Linked DNA regions of Homo sapiens: all the other regions are linked to region 1. The links are contacts of gene promoters, found by promoter capture Hi-C in blood cells and fetal thymus (Javierre and others, 2016). All regions are on one chromosome and are shown on one strand. Each heading gives the region's core, a stretch centred on a gene start or on the middle of the fragment in contact. The rest is flanking DNA. Distances are from core to core; before and after follow the strand shown.

Region 1 (2,739 bases), core at 162-2,661:
GAGTAGCGGAATCAACAAACCCTTGACCCTGAAAGGGAAGGAGGTTTTGTGTCTTTAAAACTCCATCAAGACCTGCTTCTTCAAACCCTCCATTCCTTGCAGTGCCTGTCTATGTGGGTGCTTTGTGGTTGCCAGTAGATTGGTATTTACATTGCCATGGACCTCTTTCAGACAGAGTTGACCTGCTGACTACTGCTGCCTTTCCATCTATGTACCCCCAAGTTGGACCGCGATGGGGGTGGGGGGGGGGGTCTTCTCTTTGTGCAGATGGACTGAGCTGCAGTGTGGGTGGATTGAAAGTGTCCTCTAAGATGTTTACTGTCAACATGGTGTATGAAACCAGCTTAACTCTGATATTTACTTGAGGCTGGGTAGGAGAATTGTTTACAAATCACATTGGGAGAGAAAGGGCAAGTTCTCAGAGGCTGTGGGAGAGAAAACAGTCCTAGGTCCTTGTTTAAGGTTAGGGCATGGCTTGCTCAGGATTTGTGCCACCAAGGGGCAGTGTGCCAGGCTCCCATGGCCGTCCTTCTGTGGGCGGGACTTCAGGGCCACCAGTCATCCCGGATGACTCAGCTTCTGGGGCACCTGCACCAGCCTTAATTTCCTCTGCTGGAGCCACTGTCTTTGAGAGGAATTGTCAGACACAGAGGGCATGTGCTGTTGATTTACAGTGGGAAAGGATGGAGGGGTTTGTTTTCACATTTATGTGTGTACTCCGTATCATGCGGCTGGATCTTGTGGAAGACTTTCTGGCTACTAGAAGTCAGGGACAAGCTGGGTCTAATTTTCGAGTAAGGCAGACAGCTGGAGGAGGTGTGGTCCCCGAAGGTCTATAAACACATCACAGTGAGTGTAGCAGTGAGTGGGAAAGATGAGGATTTCCCCTGCAATGGCTTGTGAGCAAATAGGAAATCACAGCTTTAGAAGAATGAATCATTCTTTGCTTCATGAAGCTTATGGCAGCCTCAGTGGAGCAATTGATTTAGTATGCAGTCCATTCTTGGTGAGAACAGCTAATTTCAAGCAGAAAATAATTGCCCGCAAAATGGAGCTACTTCTCCTGTTGAGATGTTTAAGGACTTTGCAGCCCACTCCACCTGTTGGGTACACCATGGTGGTTGGATTTCACTTGGTTTTGATTGTCCTTTTTCTTCCCAAAGCAGAATGCCCAGGCACTACCCTCTCCTCCCCCAGCTGGTGCTGGCATGAGAGGAATTCTGCTAATACAGATTACTGCCCACCGGGTCACTGCAGAGGAAGTTGCAGCTATAGCACCTTTGCCATTGGGAGGGATTTGTGTCTGAGCTCTCTGACTTCCGTAGCGTAGACTGGAAATGGAAGCTCACAGGGAGCTGAGACAGCCACCCACTTTCAAACTGACCTGAAATCCAGAAGAGGCAAAAGGGAGGAGAGCCAGGAGGACAGGCCAGTAGAAGGGAGGCCCTGCTAATCTCAGCATTAGCCATTCAGACTCATGGCAGCGGTGGCCTTGGCACCAGGAGCAGTCACGCAGCAGCACGGGGTGTCATGAGGTGGAGCTGGAGGAGACCCCCAGGGCCACTGGCTGTAAGTGCTGGGCTCCTGTGTGCTTCTACCCCTAACTTCCCAGTGTAGAATCAGGGTAGCTCACAGCTCAGAGACTTCCCTCTCTGGCTCTTCCTCTCAGGGTTAGCATAGGTAAGGATTCCTCAATTATTTCAGCATAATCTAGCAAAGCAACTTGCCAATGACGTCAGATAATACCCATTATGAGGTGGCTAGAGAACTGGGCACATAATAAAAGAAAACTCAGCTTTTGGCTGGGGGAATATCCTGTGGGCTTCACTGAGATCTTCCCAACCATCTCTTTAGAATTGGGGTTATTTAGAGCTGATTGAGAACACCTTAGGAGTATGTCTGTGGAAAACGTCTATTTACGTTGAAGTTTTAAAAATGCCTACCCCAGGAGGGAAGGAACACCGTTATTACCTCTCTTTGGAATGTTGGAAAGGAATGGTCCGTGTGGGTATGTAAGGCCAGACAATTTTAAACACCTTGACCACTAAAATAACCTTTGTATGTTAGAAGTGCCTGTAGATATAAGATGATTCTGTCTAATGAGGTTAGTAAATTGTTCGTTTTTTGCATGGACATTTGGACAAGTCTGTATCCTTTCATGTTTAACATCTTTGAGCTTCTGAATTTCTGTATATTATGTCTGACCTGTTATTGATAATTGGAAAGAAATGTATAATGTTCTGTGCAGAGTGCTTTTGCTTATATGTAAGCAAGCATCATAAGAACATAGGTAAATGTGGAGTGTGGAATGTGGATACTTCTTTCAATAGAATTCTGAGGGCAAGTTAACCTTGTAACCAGAGTCCTTAATACTTGGATACTGGAAAATTTTATGTGCAATAATCCCCTTGCCCAGTTTATTAAGTTGCCTGTTTTCTATGTAATGTGAAAAATTGGAATTGAGTGATTGAATTAATAAACTTGCATCGAGGAAAGCAGGGTATGTTGGCCAGTGTGAATCCCAGTAGTATCATAAAGTTTCAGTTTTGCCTTAAATTTTCATTTGTTGTCTTCCTCCCTAAATTAATGCCAATTCTCAGCATTTTCTTATACCTGCTAGAGTGATCCTAATTGATTTGGGTAGAAATAGTCTTAGAGCACGTTTTTCCATAAATAATTTTAGTCCCTGGATAATCCAACTTTTACTTATAAACAGAAAAATTTATATTAGATATGAAG
Region 2 (2,739 bases), core at 120-2,619, 450 kb before region 1:
AGTGTTTTGGTCATGCGTGTTCTGCCTTCATGAATGGACTGAGGCTTTTCCTTAGAAAAAAGACTCCGGGAGTGGCTCTCTGTTTGCCTCTTCCATTCCTCTGTTGCATGAGGGTCAGCGCTCCTCCCCTCCGGCAGCATTCAAGGTGCCACTTGGAACAGACCGTGCCCTCATGAGACACCAGAACTGCTGGTGCCCGATACTGGATTTTCCAGCCTCCAGAACTGTATGAGCCAATACATTTCTGTTCATTATAAATCACCCAGTCTCAAGTGTTCTGTTATAGCAGCACAAAATGGGCTAAGCACCAAGTGAGCTGGAAGAAGCCTGGATCCCTGCGAATTCTATAGAATAGAATTGTCATATACATTCTGGATTTTACATAAGAAAGAAAGAAACGTCTACCTTGTTCAGCCAGTACAGTTTGAGCATTCCTAATCTGAAAATCCAAAATCCAAAATGCTCCAAAATCTGAGACTTCTGGAGCACCAACATCATGCTCAAAGGAAATAGTCATTGGAGCATTTTGTATTTTCAAATAGGGATGATGAACTGGTAAGTATAATGCAAATATTCCAAAAAAGAAAAAATCCAAAATCCAAAACACTTCTGGTCACAAGTATTTTAGATAAGAGATACTCAACCTGTATTATTTTGGGTCTCTGTTAATGAAACTCAATCCTGATAAAGAATCTATTAAAAATGATAGCCTTCTGGCCAGAATCGCCATCTTCCAGTAATTTACCAAAATGATGAATACAAAAGGGAAAGAGGAGAGAAGTACCTGACATATGTTCTCCAGGCCTTTTAGAAAGCATGAAGTTGCTCCTTTGGCCACATATATGTGAATCTATCAGAAAGGTGATATTGGCAGGGTGTGGTGGCTCAGGTCTATAATCCTAGCACGTTGGGAGGCCAAGGCTGATGGATCACTTGAGTCCAGGAGTTTGAGATCAGACTGGGCAACATGGTGAAACTCTGTCTCCACAAAAAATACAAAAATTAGCAGGCATGGTGGCAAGCACCTATAGTCCCAGTTACTCAGAAGGCTGAGGCGGGAGGATCACTTGAGCCCAGGAGGCAGAGGTTGCACTGAGCTGAGATTGTGCCACTGCACTCCAGCCTGGGCAACAGAGTGAGACCCTGTCTCAAAAAAAATAAAAAATAAATACATAAGCTAAAAAACCTTTTTTTAAAAAAAGATGATATTGTAGACATCAGGGGAATGGTCACTGTTCAAAAAGGAATGCCCCACAAGTGTCACCATGGCTAAACTGGAAGAGTCTACAATGTTACCCAGCATGCTGCTGGCATTGTGGTAAACAAGTTAAGGGCAAGATTCTTGCCAAGAATTAATGGGTGTATGGAGCATATTAAGCTAAGAGCTGAGATAGCTTCCTGAAACACATGAAGGAAAATGATCAGAAAAAGAAGGAAGCCAAAGAGAAAGGTACCTGGATTAGACTGAAGTACCAGCCTGCTCCACCCAGAGAAGCGCACTTTGTGGGAACCAGTGGGAAGGAGCCTGAGCTGCTGGGACTTATTCTCTATGAATTCATGCATAATAGGTGTGAAAAATAGGCTGGGTGTGATGGCTCACGCATGTAACCCCAGCACTTTGGGAAGCTGAGGCAGGCGGATCACTTGAGGCCAGGAGTTCGAGTAGCTGGGACTACAGGCACAAGCCACCACGTCTGACTAATTTTGTTTATTTTTTGTAGAGATGCGGGGGGTCTCACTGTGTTGTCCAGGCTGGTCTTGAACTCGTGGACTCAAGCAGTCTTCCCACCTCGGCCTCCCAAAGTGCTGGGATTACAAGGATGACCCACGACGTCCAGCCATTGATGAGTTTCACTTTTTTAACATTAATCATCTTTAGTAATATTCTCCATAGTAGCCAATTACAAAACGTACATTACAGATGTAATACATCTGTTGGCCAGCTACAGCCTGGCCAACATGGCAAAACCCTATCTCTACTAAAAATACAAAAATTAACTGGGTGTGGTGGAATGCACCTGTAATCCCAGCTACTTGGGAGGCTGAGGCATGAGAATTCCTTGAACCTGGAAGGCAGAGGTTGCAGTAAGCTGAGATCACACCACTGCACTCCAGCCTGGGCAAGACTCTGTCTCAAAAAAAAAAAAAAGTTGTTAAGAAAAAAAAGACCACTAGACTATTTAAAAACACAGAAAACAATAACATAAATCAGGCGCTGTGGTGCATACCTATAATCCCAGCTACTTGGGAGGCTGAGGCAGGAAAACAGCTTGAGCCAAGGAACACAAGACCTCTCTCAGAGGGGAAAAAAAAGATAACATAGATTAAACAATATACTTATGATTTTTGTACTTTTCTATATGAAGTACCTCTTAAAATTTATATTAAAACAAACAAAAAATACACCTCCAATCAAAGAAGCCAGACACAAAAGAGTGCATACTGTACAGTTCCACTTATAAAAATCCTAGAAAATGCAAACGATGGCATATAAAAGCAGATCAGCTGACTGCCCAACTGGAGGCTGGGGTGATGAGGAACCTCAAAGGGACATGTGGAGTTGTTTGGGGATAATGGAAATGTTGTGTACTTTGGTAGTGGTTTTCGCAAGTGCATGCACACAACTCTCAAAACCCATGGTATTATAAACTCTAAATAGATGCAGTTTGATTACATGAATTACATTTTTTTTTTTTTTTGAGACGGAGTCTCACTCTGTCGCCCAGGCTGGAGTGCAGT
Region 3 (2,739 bases), core at 174-2,673, 420 kb before region 1:
GCACTTTGAATGCCAAGGAGGAAACCTGTTATGGGCTGTACCTCAGAATGTGACTGTATCTGGAAACAGTGTCTTAAAAGAGGTAATTAACTTAAGTCATTGGGGTGGGTCTTTATCCAATATGACTGCTATCTTTATAAGAGGAGATTATGACAGAGACAGGATTAGAGGGAAGACCATGTGAAAATACAGAAGATGCTATCTATAAGCCAAGGAGAGAGGCCTCAGAAGAAATTAACCCTATCAACACCCTGATCTCATGCTCAAAACCTCTAGAATTATAAAAGATAAATTTCTGTTGTTTAAGGTACCCAGTCTGGCACTTTGTTAAGGCATCCTTAGCAACATAATAGGAAACCCATTTTCAGAGTCAGGAAGACCAAAACCAACCAACCAATTGGTAGTGGAAAGGAACTGGGGAAAAGGGAAGCAGCTTTCCCAGTTCCAAAACCCAAGTGCTGCTCAGCCAAGCACAACTTGCAGAATGAACCAATGTACATTTCACCCCAAAGTCTTACCACATTTTCTGGCAGCTTGTGTCCAGGAAGATATTTTACATTTTCATGGTCATTATTTATGATGTCTGTCAGTTTTCTGCCATTCACTGTTTCTTCAAAGACCCACATCTTGACTGTGGAGGCAAATTTCTGAAGTTTCTTGACATTATTACCAATTATTTTTGCAACAGCTGAACCCCTACAAAAGAAATCGTGGAAAAGAAAAACATAAACTCACTTGGGCGGGAGAGAAAAAGCGTTTGATTAAAATTCAGAAGACTTGTGTTTTGATTCTGATTCAAACACTGAGCCTACTCAAGATGTGACGTGTATCAGCCCCAAGCCATTTGAAACTTAGTTGTTTTCACATGGAATACCACCGCCTGTGACTGGGAAAGCACCAGAATTTGGCTTAAGGTCAAAATGCACCACCCCTTGAAACTAGTAAGAATCAACCTATCTTGGAAGACAACGTCACAGGCAGAAGAGAAATCCACCCCAAAGCATGAAAATGACCCTAGAAGGTCTTGAAAGGATATTGAGATGTACCTGTGGTAAGATAAACTGTGTCTTGATGAACTGCAACAGGTGCAAAGCAGAATCACAAAGGAAAGACAAGAACCTGACTGGATTCCAGAAGAGGAGCAAAGGGAGAGCGCAGGGCCCAGTTGTTGAGTACTTTGCACTCCCTCCGCCCTGCAACCAAGCCGGCCTCTGGCCCCCAAGCTCCCTTTTCTCTGCATCTCTATTTAGCAAACATGTTCTAGTGACGGCTCAGTCTCCCACAGGCTTTCCTACAGGGGACAAGAATGACCCTGATTTGTTAACATCTGTCCTCCCGACAGCAGTGCAGGTCTGCACGTGGTTGCCGCAGCAGAGGAGGTTGGACCAGGCACCTGTGTCCATCTCACAGAAGCTGCTGATGGGGCCATGGTGGGCACTTGATCCTAGCTGAGCCTGTCAGCTTTCCCCTCTGGACTTTCAACTGAGAAACAGTTTGTTTCTTAGATGACCTTCCTGGCGTGAGGAGCAAATGAGAGAACGCAGTAAAGAGCATCTTGCAAATTCATGTGTTAGGGCAGTTGCTACTTTTTCTCACAATTATTCTCAAGACAAATTGATGAGATGGAGTAGGGGGTGACAACAAAAGGCGGGGGCGGCCAAGTGGATGCAGAACATGTTGGAGACATTTATTTTCATCCCTGGATGAATCTGTTATTCTAACCCAAATATAATACATCCCAGCATATAAACCTGTATGCTTTAACAACCATAAAATTTCAAGTAATTCTAACAGATTATAAATATTGTCCCTTTCCTGACATAGAAGGGATAAACTGAACCAGTGGTTCTCAACTTTGGCTGCACACAGAGTTACCCGGGAGATTTAAAAATCCTGAGTCCCAGACCACACCCCAGGCCAACGGAACTGGCACTTCTGTGGTGGGATCAGGCATCTGTACTTTTTAAAGCTCCCTGATGACTTGATGTGCAGCCAGGGCTGAGAGCCACTGCTCTGCACAATGATTAGAATTCTGATGCCCTCCTCCCTCACAAAAGAATAGCTGTAGATATCAAGGCTATGCAGCTGTACCTGTGAAATTCTTATTCTATGCCAGCAGGACAGGTTATTAGAAAAATACCCATTAATCTAATTCTCCTACTGACACTTTGTAGAAGGGAGGCCAGGAATCTCCCACCATCACTACCACCTTTATTCTAATCTTGGAAACAGCTGCTCACGTACTCACAGGAAGATAAAGGCTGTGGTTCACAGTGTTCCCTGGCATCAAGTAACTTTCACAAGGTCATAGAGAACAAGTATGGTTCTGGGGGACTGAGCATCAACTGACGAGGGACTATGAGACACCAGGAATCTAAGTCTAGTAAACCAAGTGGAAAAATAAATCAGAACCAGGAATCCCTCCCCATGATCTTACTGGAATACACTTGCTTTCCCCTTTACAGCTGCCTCTTGGGGAAGCCAAACATTTGCAACCAGAAGCAAACCTGTAGTATCTGCTGCAATGAGTTGGGAATATTTATTTATTTATGTATTTATTTATTTATTTAATTTATTGATACAGGATCTCACTCTGTCACCCAGGCTGGAGTGCAGTGGCACAGTCACAATTCACTGCAGCCTCGACCTCCTGGGCTCAGGTGATCCTTCCAACTCAGCCTCCTGAGTGGCTGGGACTACAGGCACATGCCACCACACCTGCCTAGAGTTAGGAAAATT

Evidence for each region. The method cuts DNA at HindIII sites, captures the fragments that hold promoters and counts their contacts. A CHiCAGO score of 5 or more calls a contact.
Region 2: a fragment that was not itself captured here is called in contact with the fragment with the promoter of OSBPL10-AS1 in region 1 in 1 of 17 cell types (naive B cells); the score reaches 5.2 in naive B cells.
Region 3: a contact is called between a fragment that was not itself captured here and the fragment with the promoter of OSBPL10-AS1 in region 1, in 1 of 17 cell types (naive B cells). The highest score is 6.0, in naive B cells.

Annotation. Positions count from the first base shown.
Region 1 is chr3:31,702,885-31,705,623 of GRCh38, reverse strand. It overlaps OSBPL10-AS1 (OSBPL10 antisense RNA 1), which reads right to left and starts at 1,411. Exons shown (of 5, transcript NR_049771.1): 1 at 1,385-1,411. The region is part of intron 6 of OSBPL10 (oxysterol binding protein like 10); the gene reads left to right. The HindIII fragment of the contact is 3,023 bases long and covers 959-2,739 here.
Region 2 is chr3:32,149,909-32,152,647 of GRCh38, reverse strand. All of the region lies in intron 5 of GPD1L (glycerol-3-phosphate dehydrogenase 1 like), which reads right to left. It also overlaps the pseudogene RPL21P137. Among named protein-coding and RNA genes, the nearest start is that of GPD1L, 45 kb to the right of the region's middle. The HindIII fragment of the contact is 5,964 bases long and covers 1-2,739 here.
Region 3 is chr3:32,126,033-32,128,771 of GRCh38, reverse strand. It overlaps GPD1L (glycerol-3-phosphate dehydrogenase 1 like), which reads right to left. Exons shown (of 8, transcript NM_015141.4): 2 at 519-696. Among named protein-coding and RNA genes, the nearest start is that of GPD1L, 21 kb to the right of the region's middle. The HindIII fragment of the contact is 3,239 bases long and covers 1-2,739 here.